2 separate regions of the Homo sapiens genome follow, and region 2 is linked to region 1. Evidence: promoter capture Hi-C in 16 types of primary human blood cells and fetal thymus (Javierre and others, 2016). All regions are on one chromosome and are shown on one strand. The core of a region is centred on a gene start or on the middle of the fragment in contact, and the rest is flanking DNA. Distances in the headings are between cores, read along the strand shown.

Region 1 (4,184 bases), core at 1-2,500:
ACATTCCTTGCTTGGACAGCAGTGCCCCTGAGAGTGGCACACCTATGGGTGCCCTGGGCGACTGGCCTGCCCCTATTGAGGAGCGTGAGAGCCCGGCAGCCCAGCCCCTGCTGGAACACCAGTACTGAGCTACCTGGCGCCCACTGGACCACCTCCTAGGATTCAGTAACGGACCTGCTCTGCTGCCTCTCTGCTGGACCACAGAACTGAGTGGCTTTGGCCTACATGTCTGAACCCTGACCTTTGGCTGCCTTGGCCAGAGTACCAAAACTGAGTGACCCAGACCTCTGACCTTGACCCCTGATCTCTCTCATCCCCAGTCCAGGGCCTGGGCTCCCCAGATGGAGGCAGTCAGCCTCCCAGCCAGGCCCTAAGAGCCAAACCATGGGCTGGTCCCACTTGGAGCCTGTGGCCAGGACCACCTCAGCCCCTGGGCCTGCACTGCCTGCAGGTGTGGCCCCCTTGGCCTGGACCTGGGGCCTGAATTGTGGGAAGGGTGGTTTCTTTCTTTCCTTTTTTTTCTTTTCTTTTTTTTTTTTTTTTTTGTGCTTCGGAGACATCAGAATTAATAACACTATTTTTGATTTTGGTTGGCAGTTTCTTTTTCTACCTGGGAATGGGTACATGATAGTACAGGCGGCTAAGTTGGGATGGACAAGCACGCAGAGGGGTGAAGGATGTGGGGCTGAAGTCTAGTAGAGATCAAGGGCAGACCAAGGTGGGGTTCAGGTAGAACCGGGTCCTCTTCACCGCATGGCTGCTCCCTTTTCAAGCCTTTATCTGAAGGGTATTGTCTGCCATTTCCCACCATATGGTCAGACTTCCAGGTCTGGTGGCTCCTACATTTATCAGGCTTGTTCTTGGCCAAAGCCTTTCTCTGCACCTCAGCTGCTCCAGGGCGTAAAGAGATGACACCTATCTAAGGTGTTTTTAGAATAAATGAGAGCGCGCTAGTGGAATGGTTGCCCAGGGCCCAGTGCTTAGCAAGTGCTCCATAAAATAGTGGCAGACTCTTGAGCACCTGCTGGCCGGGAGCTGGACGCTAGGTGGCCTCCGCTAGCCCTCCCGGTTGGTCTGGAAGGCAGGCACAAGTTTCTCAGGAGAGGAAATGGCCTTAGAATGAGCACTGCTCGGTGCTGACCTCCGCCAGGCCTGGAATCCCCGCTGCTGCGCTTCCCGCCGCAGACAGCTCCCGGCCGGCCCCGCCTCCCGGCATGGCCCCGCCTCCCAGCATGGCCCCGCCCCCAGGCGGAGCCGGCGCCGGGAGCGGTAGCGGGAGAGCGGCAGCGGGACCCCAGCGCGGGCGGCGGCGGCTGGGCGGGAGCCCCAGAGGTACTGGCGGGAGCAGGGGACGGGAGGCACTACTGTCGGGCCCGACAGGGGAGAGGTGGCCTAGCCGTGGGCCCGGGTGATGTGTATGGGAGTGGGGTCCTCGCCACGTTCGCCGCCAGCACCCTCCCAACTTCCCTCCGGGCTCCAGCTCAGTCCCGAGTCAATATGTCCAGCCCCCTGTCTCTGACCAGCCGTTCCTACTCTCTCTGTGTGACGGCTTAGCCTGGCCAGCCAGCCGGTGAGTGGAAGCGGCGGCTCCTGACTCCTGGTGGCGGCACTGTGACCCCCTCCCCCTCAACACTGCAAGTGTGTGCGGGGCTCCCCCTTATTCTGAGGCTCCTCTTCTTCTTAGGCGGCCTCCACCCCAGTCCCTGGCCTGGCCTGGGAGGAAACATCTGTCGCGCCCCCTGGCAGCCGAAATGGGGTCATGACCTCCAGATGTGCTGGGAAGTGGCCAGCTCCTCCTCCTGGGGCAGCCAGGCCTTCCGGATCTGTGGGGGCGGGGCCGGCCCTTTCCCCCCACCCCTAGTGACACAGGCCCGGAGGAATGTCCTAGCCTCAATGGACCCTGTGTGAAGCTTCAGGGTGGGGGGCAGAGCCCGAGAACACCCCTCAAGGCAGCGCCAGAGCCTGGCACTGGGCCACAGCAAGAGGCAGCGCACAGGCTGGGTGCACACATGCACAGATCTCACTTCCAAGCGTGCAGAGCTCAGCCCACAAGGAGCGGGGCTTGCACAGACCCCCTCCCTCATGCCCTCCTACTCCTTCACACACTATAGCCCAGGCCCGAGCGCTGAATGTGCCCAGAGCTTGGCTCATGGAGCCAGGGGCTACACCCGTCACACACACACATAGCTAGCGACACTCACCTCATTCTTCTCAGTCTCTCAGCAGCCTTGGGAGGGGACAGAAATAATTAAACCCAATTTTTTTCTTTGTTTTTTTGGAGACAGTCTCACTCTGTCCCGCAGGCTGGAGTTCAGTGGCGCGATCTCGGCTCACTGCAACCTCTGCCTCCCAGGTTTAAGCGATTCTCCTGCCTCAGCCTCCTGAGTGGCTGGGACTACAGGTGCGCACCACCACACCCGGCTAATTTTTATGTTTTTAGTAGAGACAGGGTTTCACCATGTTAGCTAGGCTGGTCTTGAACTCCTGACCTCAGGTGATCCCCCCGCCTTGGCCTCCCAAAGTGCTGGGATTACAGGCCACAGCCACCGCACCCGGCCAGTTAACCCCATTTTAGAGATGAGAAAACAGAGGCTCAAGGTCAGCATGGGAGTTTATTCAGGAGAAATCAAGGTAGAAGCACCTGGGCTGGGGAGCCGACTCTTGCTTGGTTCTGGAGGCCCCAGACGAAGGGTGTGTGGAGCCCCTCCTCCACCCCCCTCCGGCCCAGCCCCGCATGATGTTGCTGGATGCTGCATGAAGACCCACCATTAGATGCCTGTACCCCCAGTGGAGGTTCCCCAGCTCCCTGTCCTCACTGCCTACTCCATCCAGGGCTTGCCTGGGTGTGGCTTCCCTCAAGTTCTCACACCACCATTTGCACCTGCCTCTGGCGTCACGTTTCCGCACTTAGCAGGTCCCTGGGGCTTTGGGTGTCTCAATCTTGCATCCTGTGAGACCTTGAACCTCAGCCCAACACCCACCCCCCAAAACCTACGCACACAGACAGCAGTGGGCAGGTGCAGCCCTGCTTAGGGCCTGGAGATGGGCAGACCCAGGCTCACATCCTAGCTCTGACACGGAATTGCTTCAGGCAAGAGCATCTCCTCTGGACCTCATCTGACCATCTGTCACATGGGGTTCAGACCTCCCTGTCTGCATCAGTGAGACCAGGTAGGCAGAGGTCCCTATGGGTCCCTGTCATTGTGACTCCTCTTGCCCCCAAGCCTGGGCACAGTAGCCTGCAAGAAGGTGAGTTGGCCTGTCCTTCAGGGCAGGGTGACTGGGGTCCCATGACAGCTGCTGTGACCCCAGCACCTTCCTCAGGATGTGGGGGCCTGGCAGAGGGCTGGGCCCACAGTTGGGGCTACTTCCTGTGCTGAAGGAAGTCCTCTTGCCATTCCTGCTGCCCTGCCGCTGCCTCCCTGGGAACCCATGTGTCCTTGTGGTATTGAGGCCTTGAGGTCCAGGGCACTGAGATCAGACCTCTCTGGGTGATCAGCTCTCCAGGGACCCTGAAGGAAGTGGGAGGGGCAAGGAGGAAGGTCTCTGGGGACAGGACGTCCTCCCTTTGTTAAGTGGGCAGGACCCAGACACCAGTGGCCCCTGGGTTTCCCGTCCCAGCCAATACAAGTCATCTGTCCGGTTGGGCTAGGTCCTGGTGGGACCCTTACTCTGGGCCCAGGCCAAAGCTAAGGTGTGTGGGTGGCGACTGGGGGACCCTGGCAGTCCCAGGGCTGCCCAGGCTCCAGGACCCTCAGGACCAAGACCCAACAGCCCAGCCTCTAGCCTTGCCCAGCTAAGCTGGGGAGGGGGCTGGAAACTTTAGCCCTAGGCAGACAAGGAAGTGGCCTGGAAAGCGGAAGCAGCTTTGATGGTCTCGGAGGGGGCCGGAAGCCAACACGGGTGGTGGAGGACCAGGCTGGGGGCCTGGGTTCCTGTTTTCTGCCCAGGCCCCTCTGAGCAGCCCCCTCCTCCTTCAGGGCAGGAACTGCTGCCACAACCTCAGGCTGGGCACCAAACACCCGTGCCCGCCAATGCGGCCCAGCCCCCGGAGAGTCAGGCCCACAGAGCATGCCCATGTGGGCCGGCGGTGTGGGGAGCCCTCGGCGGGGCATGGCCCCTGCGTCCACAGATGACCTCTTTGCCCGCAAGCTGCGCCAGCCAGCAAGGCCCCCGCTGACACC
Region 2 (5,062 bases), core at 1,729-4,228, 240 kb after region 1:
ACTGGATCAGTGTCTCCCTCCTACCAAGCAGGGAGCTCCTCTCAGGCAGTGAGGCCCCTGTGCCCATGGCCCAGCCCTTACTGGGTACCAGCTGGGATCTGCAGAGTAGGCAGTTGAATGAACAAATGAGTGAGTGGGTGGAGGAAGTTCATTGATTCACTCAACAAATGTTTTCTCGGCCGGGTGCAGTGGCTCACGCCTGTAATCCCAGCACTTTGGGAGGCCAAGGCAGGTGGATTGCTTGAGGTCAGGAGTTTGAGACCAGCCTGACCAACATGGTGAAACCCTGTCTCTACTAAAAATACAAAAAGATTACCCCAGCATGGTGGTGCACACCTGTAGCCCTAGTTACTTGGGAGGCTGAGGCAGGAGAATTGCTGGAACCCGGGAGGCAGAGGTTGCGGTGAGCCGAGATCGTGACACTGCACTCCAGGCTGGGCGACAGAGTGAGACTCTGTCTCAAAAAAACAAAGCAAAACAAAACAAACAATGTTTACTGAGTGGCCACTGTGAAGCAGATGCTGTGGTGCTAGCCAGGGACACAGCACTGACCAAAAACAGACCCAAACCTCCTGGCCTCAGGAGCTCTAGTTCAAGGGAAGGGAGGAGAGGATCAAAGGGAAGGCCACTGGGCCCCACACCTCCAGTTCCTTTTCCCCGTGGCCTCCCACATCCCCTACCATCACAAGAGGCCCACACTGGGACCTCCACCTCTGAGGGCTGACATGGAGCCTTAACTATCAGTCACACACAGGACAAGACTGGCTGGGGCCCATAACTGGGCTCTAGAACCACAGGGCCAGGCACCACTCTGGGGATGGTCTGTCCACTGCATTTCAATAAAGGCAGCAGCATGCTTTTCAGATAGAGAAGCCCCTTGGTTTACTCTCTGGGCAGGGTGACAAAGTGTGGCCTCACGACTCTGGGAGGAATCCTAATAAAGAAACATGGTAGGCCGGGCGTGGTGGCTCACGCCTGTAATCCCAGCACTTTGGGAGGCCGAGGCGAGCGGATCACGAGGTCAAGAGATCAAGACCATCCTGGCTAACATGGTGAAACCCTGTCTCTACTAAAAAATACAAAAAATTAGCCGGGCGTGGTGGCGGGTGCCTGTAGTCCCAGCTACTCGGGAGGCCGAGGCAGGAGAATGGCGTGAACCCAGGAGGTGGAGGTTCCAGTGAGCCGAGATCGCACCACTGCACTCCAGCCTGGGCGACAGAGCGAGACTCCGTCTCAAAAAAACAAACAAAAAAAAGAAACGCAGTAGTGAGCATGTAAGTGAATAAATCCCAGGATTATAGCTGTCCTGTCTCCCACCCCATGGAACCCTAGAAAGCCAGCTCTTCACACCCTTCTCTGGTCTTGGTCACCAGTTCTCAGCCTGAACTCCTATAGGGGAGGTCCCCAGCCCAAGGACCCACTTAGAACAAAGGCAGCAGTAACGGGTGTTAATGCTGCTGCCCAGCCCTTGACCTCACAAGTCAGGCTTTGGCCTCCCTCCGTCTGTGATGCTCACCCTGTTATCCTTCTGGCTCTTCAGCCCCCTCATCCTCATCCCTAGACCGTGGGAGGGATGAGGAACGGGAGGCACTGGCTGCAGTTGCTGCTCCCGGACTCTGACTCTGCGCTTTCCTGTTTTGTTTTGTTTTTTGAGATGGAGTTTCACTTTTGTTGCCCAGGCTGGAGTGTAATGGTGCGATCTCGGCTCACTGCAACCTCCACCTCTCAGGTTCAAGTGATTCTTGTGCCTCAGCCTCCCGAGTAACTGGGATTATAGGCGCCCGCCACCATGCCCAGCTGCTTTTTTGTATTTTTAGTAGAGACAGGGTTTCACCATGTTGGCCAGGCTGGTCTCCAACTCCTGACCTCAGGTGATCCACCCGCCTCGGCCTCCCAAAGTGCTGGGATTACAAGCGTGAGCCACCGTGCCTGGCCTGGTTTTGTTTTTTTGACACAGGATCTTGGACCCACGCTGGAGTGCAGAGGCATGATCATAGCTCACTGCAGCCTTAATCTTCCAGGCTCAAGCAATCCCACTGGCCTCAGCCTCCCCAGTAGCTGGGACTACAGGAGAGCACCACCATGCTTGGCTAACTTTTTTTTTTTTAAGTAGAGATGAAGCCTTGCTCAGTTGTCCAAGTTTGTCTCCAACTCCTGAGCTCAAATGATTCTCCTACCTTGGCCTCCCAAAGTGATGAGATTACAGGCATGAGCCATTATGCCCGGCCTGCTTTCCTGTTTAAAACTCATGATGATCAATTGTTCAGTCAACAAACACCTAGCGAGCCTGACTCATGCCTAGCCCTATCCTGGGAACCGAGGACACCGAGGACACAAGCGAACTGAACACTTCTGGTGTGGTTGGAGGCAGATGCCCAATGGGCACAGGTGCAGCTGGGCTGAAGGGGCTGCAAAGCTTCTACCAGAGGTTGGGGAAGCAGGGAAGGCTTCTTGAAAGAGGCGGCCATTGAGCTGACTGAGCTTCATAGGATGAGCAAGAGTGGTTCCCTTGGCTGGGCGCAGTGGCTCATGCCTGTTATCCCAGCACTTTGGGAGGCTGAGGCAGGTGGATCACCTGAGGTCAGGAGTTGGAGACCAGCCTGACCAACATGGTGAAATGCTGTCTCTACTGAAAATACAAAAAATTCGCTGGGCATGGTGGTGCATGCCTGTAGTCCCAGCTAGTCGGGAGGCTGAGGCAGGAGAATTGCTTGAACCCGGGAGGTGGAGGTTGCAGTGAGCCGAGATCATGCCACTGCACTCCAACCTGGGTGGAAAAAAAAAAGAAAGAAAGAAAGAAAGAAAAAGGGGTGGGATGGGGAGCAGACAGGCAGGGACTGAAAGCCTGAAGGCCTGAGCAACTTGTGGGTTCTAGGGGTCCACCCTCCACCCACCAAGCCTGTCTTCCCCTTCGTGGTTTCTCCAGCCCCACCCTCACACCGTCCTCCTCGATCTGCGCGGCTTCCTGCCTCCATGCCACTCCAGACTGCACCGGCATGGCACTGACTGCCCACCCCTCCTGCCTCCTGGCCCTGTTGGTGGCAGGCCTAGCCCAAGGCATCAGAGGCCCCCTTAGGGCCCAGGTAAGTGCTCCCAAACCCTTACCTATGCCAGTCCCACGCCTGGGGTCACCCCTTCAGAAACAGCTGGCCTGTCATTCTCATTTTTCAGAGGGAGTTGCTGAGGCTGGAGAGGGGGCTGACGTGCCCAAGGGCACATGGGAAGACAGAAAAGGCTAACTGGCTGACCCCTAGCCCAGTCCTTGCACGGCTGGGAACTAAGGTGGGGCCCCAGCAATGATTCCTCTGCCCACTGCCCCTCTCCACCCTTGGTTCCTTGCCAGGACCTAGGTCCCCAGCCGCTAGAGCTGAAAGAGGCCTTCAAGTTGTTCCAGATCCAGTTCAACCGGAGTTACCTGAGCCCAGAAGGTATCACAGGGCACATACATCTCCAGTCCAAGCCCCCACTTTTTTTTTTTTTGAGACGGAGTTTCACTCTTGTTGACCAGGCTGGAGTGCAATGGTGTCATCTTGGCTCACTGCAACCTCCACCTCCCGGGTTCAAGCGATTCTCCTGCTTCAGCCTCTGAGTAGCTGGGATTACAGGCATGCGCCACCACACTTGGCTAACCTTTACATTTTTAGTAGAGATGGGGTTTGACCATGTTGGCCAGGCTGGTCTTGAACTCCTGACATCAGGTGATCCGCCTGCCTCGGCCTCCCAAAGGGCTGGGATTACAGGTGTAAGCCACGGAGCCCAGCCATCCCGCTTTGTAATAGATGAAGAAATCGAAGCTCAGGGTGGGGAACAGGCATGGCCAAGGCCACTCAGCAGGACAGGCCAGGGCTGGGGGTGTGTTCCCTGGTTTCCCGAAGGCATGAGTGGGTCCAGGATCATTCTTTGCTATGGATCTGGAGGGCAGTGGCAGGAGGTGGGGTCCTGCCCTAGTCCTACGTGATCCCCTGGCTCCACAGCCACTTCCCTGCGATTCTAGGCAGTGGACAGGGGGCCACCACCTAGTCATTTGCTCATTCAGCAAACACCCAAGGACACCCATTTTGTCCCCACATTGGGGACTTCTTCTCTAGCCCATGATCTAACCCCTGCCCCTGCCCTCTCGCTGTGCTGATCTCTCTAGGGGGCTGATCTGTGTGTGCCTTTTAGCCCAGACTGCCTGTGCCTTGTCATCTCCTCTCCCTGCCATGTTCCAGCTCTCCTCCTGTGGTCAGAGGTGTAAAGGACGTGGCCTGGCAGGAAGCTGGTCTCCAGCCACACATCCTTGAGTCACCACCACCGGACCCCTTGCCTGGCTTCCCACCTAGGGTGGCCAGAGATGGTCCTCTGGCTGCCTCTGGGGAAAACCCAACCCTCGGTGGGCTGGGTAACCACTTCCTGGGCCTGGGTATCTGCAGTGGGGCCTTGTGGGGGCTACAGGAAAGGAGCCAGTGCTCAACTGGGTGGGTGTGGGTGGAAGGGTGCCCAGCCAGCGGCTACTTCCTGCCCCTAAGGGCTTGGGAGTCAGCCTAGGACAACTCCCTTTTGGTCCAGAGCATGCTCACCGCCTGGACATCTTTGCCCACAACCTGGCCCAGGCTCAGAGGCTGCAGGAGGAGGACTTGGGCACAGCTGAGTTTGGGGTGACTCCATTCAGTGACCTCACAGGTACCATTAACCCTTCTGGCTCGTAGGTGGTGGTTGGGAAGCGATCTCCCCAGGGACACTGGCAGCTGGACCCAGCGGACCTTCAATTTTTACTTCCCAGGGAAGGAAATTCATTTCCCTGAGGACCAGGGGCTTGGGTGCTGGTATCAAATCACCCAGTGCAGGGGCAGAATCTCTGCAGTCCTGTGTCCTAATCCAGCCTAGGGGCCAGCGCAGCAGCTGCAGGGAAGCACCCAGCAGGGAGCCCAGCCTCTCTAGGCTTGGCACCCTTGCCTTTTTGAGACAGGGTCTTGCTCTGTTGTCCAGGCTGCAGTACAATAGTGCAATCACAGCTCACTCAGCCTCCACCTCCTAGACTCAAGCAATTCCCCCGACCCCTCAGCCTTCTAAGTAGCTGGGG

The links. Contacts are between HindIII fragments. The CHiCAGO score rates a contact against its expected background, and 5 or more counts as called.
Region 2: the fragment with the promoter of CTSW here is called in contact with the fragment with the promoter of SIPA1 in region 1 in 2 of 17 cell types (M1 macrophages and endothelial precursors); the score reaches 5.2 in M1 macrophages.

Annotation. Positions count from the first base shown.
Region 1 is chr11:65,636,851-65,641,034 of GRCh38, forward strand. It overlaps SIPA1 (signal-induced proliferation-associated 1), which reads left to right and starts at 1,251. Exons shown (of 16, transcript NM_006747.4): 1 at 1,251-1,332; 2 at 3,981-4,184. The coding sequence starts at 4,072. It overlaps PCNX3 (pecanex 3), which reads left to right. Exons shown (of 35, transcript NM_032223.4): 35 at 1-589. The coding sequence ends at 128. RefSeq lists enhancers at 72-862, 1,814-1,883 and a silencer at 1,094-1,463. The HindIII fragment of the contact is 3,649 bases long and covers 1-1,908 here.
Region 2 is chr11:65,876,859-65,881,920 of GRCh38, forward strand. It overlaps CTSW (cathepsin W), which reads left to right and starts at 2,979. Exons shown (of 10, transcript NM_001335.4): 1 at 2,979-3,083; 2 at 3,344-3,428; 3 at 4,549-4,662. The coding sequence starts at 2,997. The HindIII fragment of the contact is 11,122 bases long and covers 2,415-5,062 here.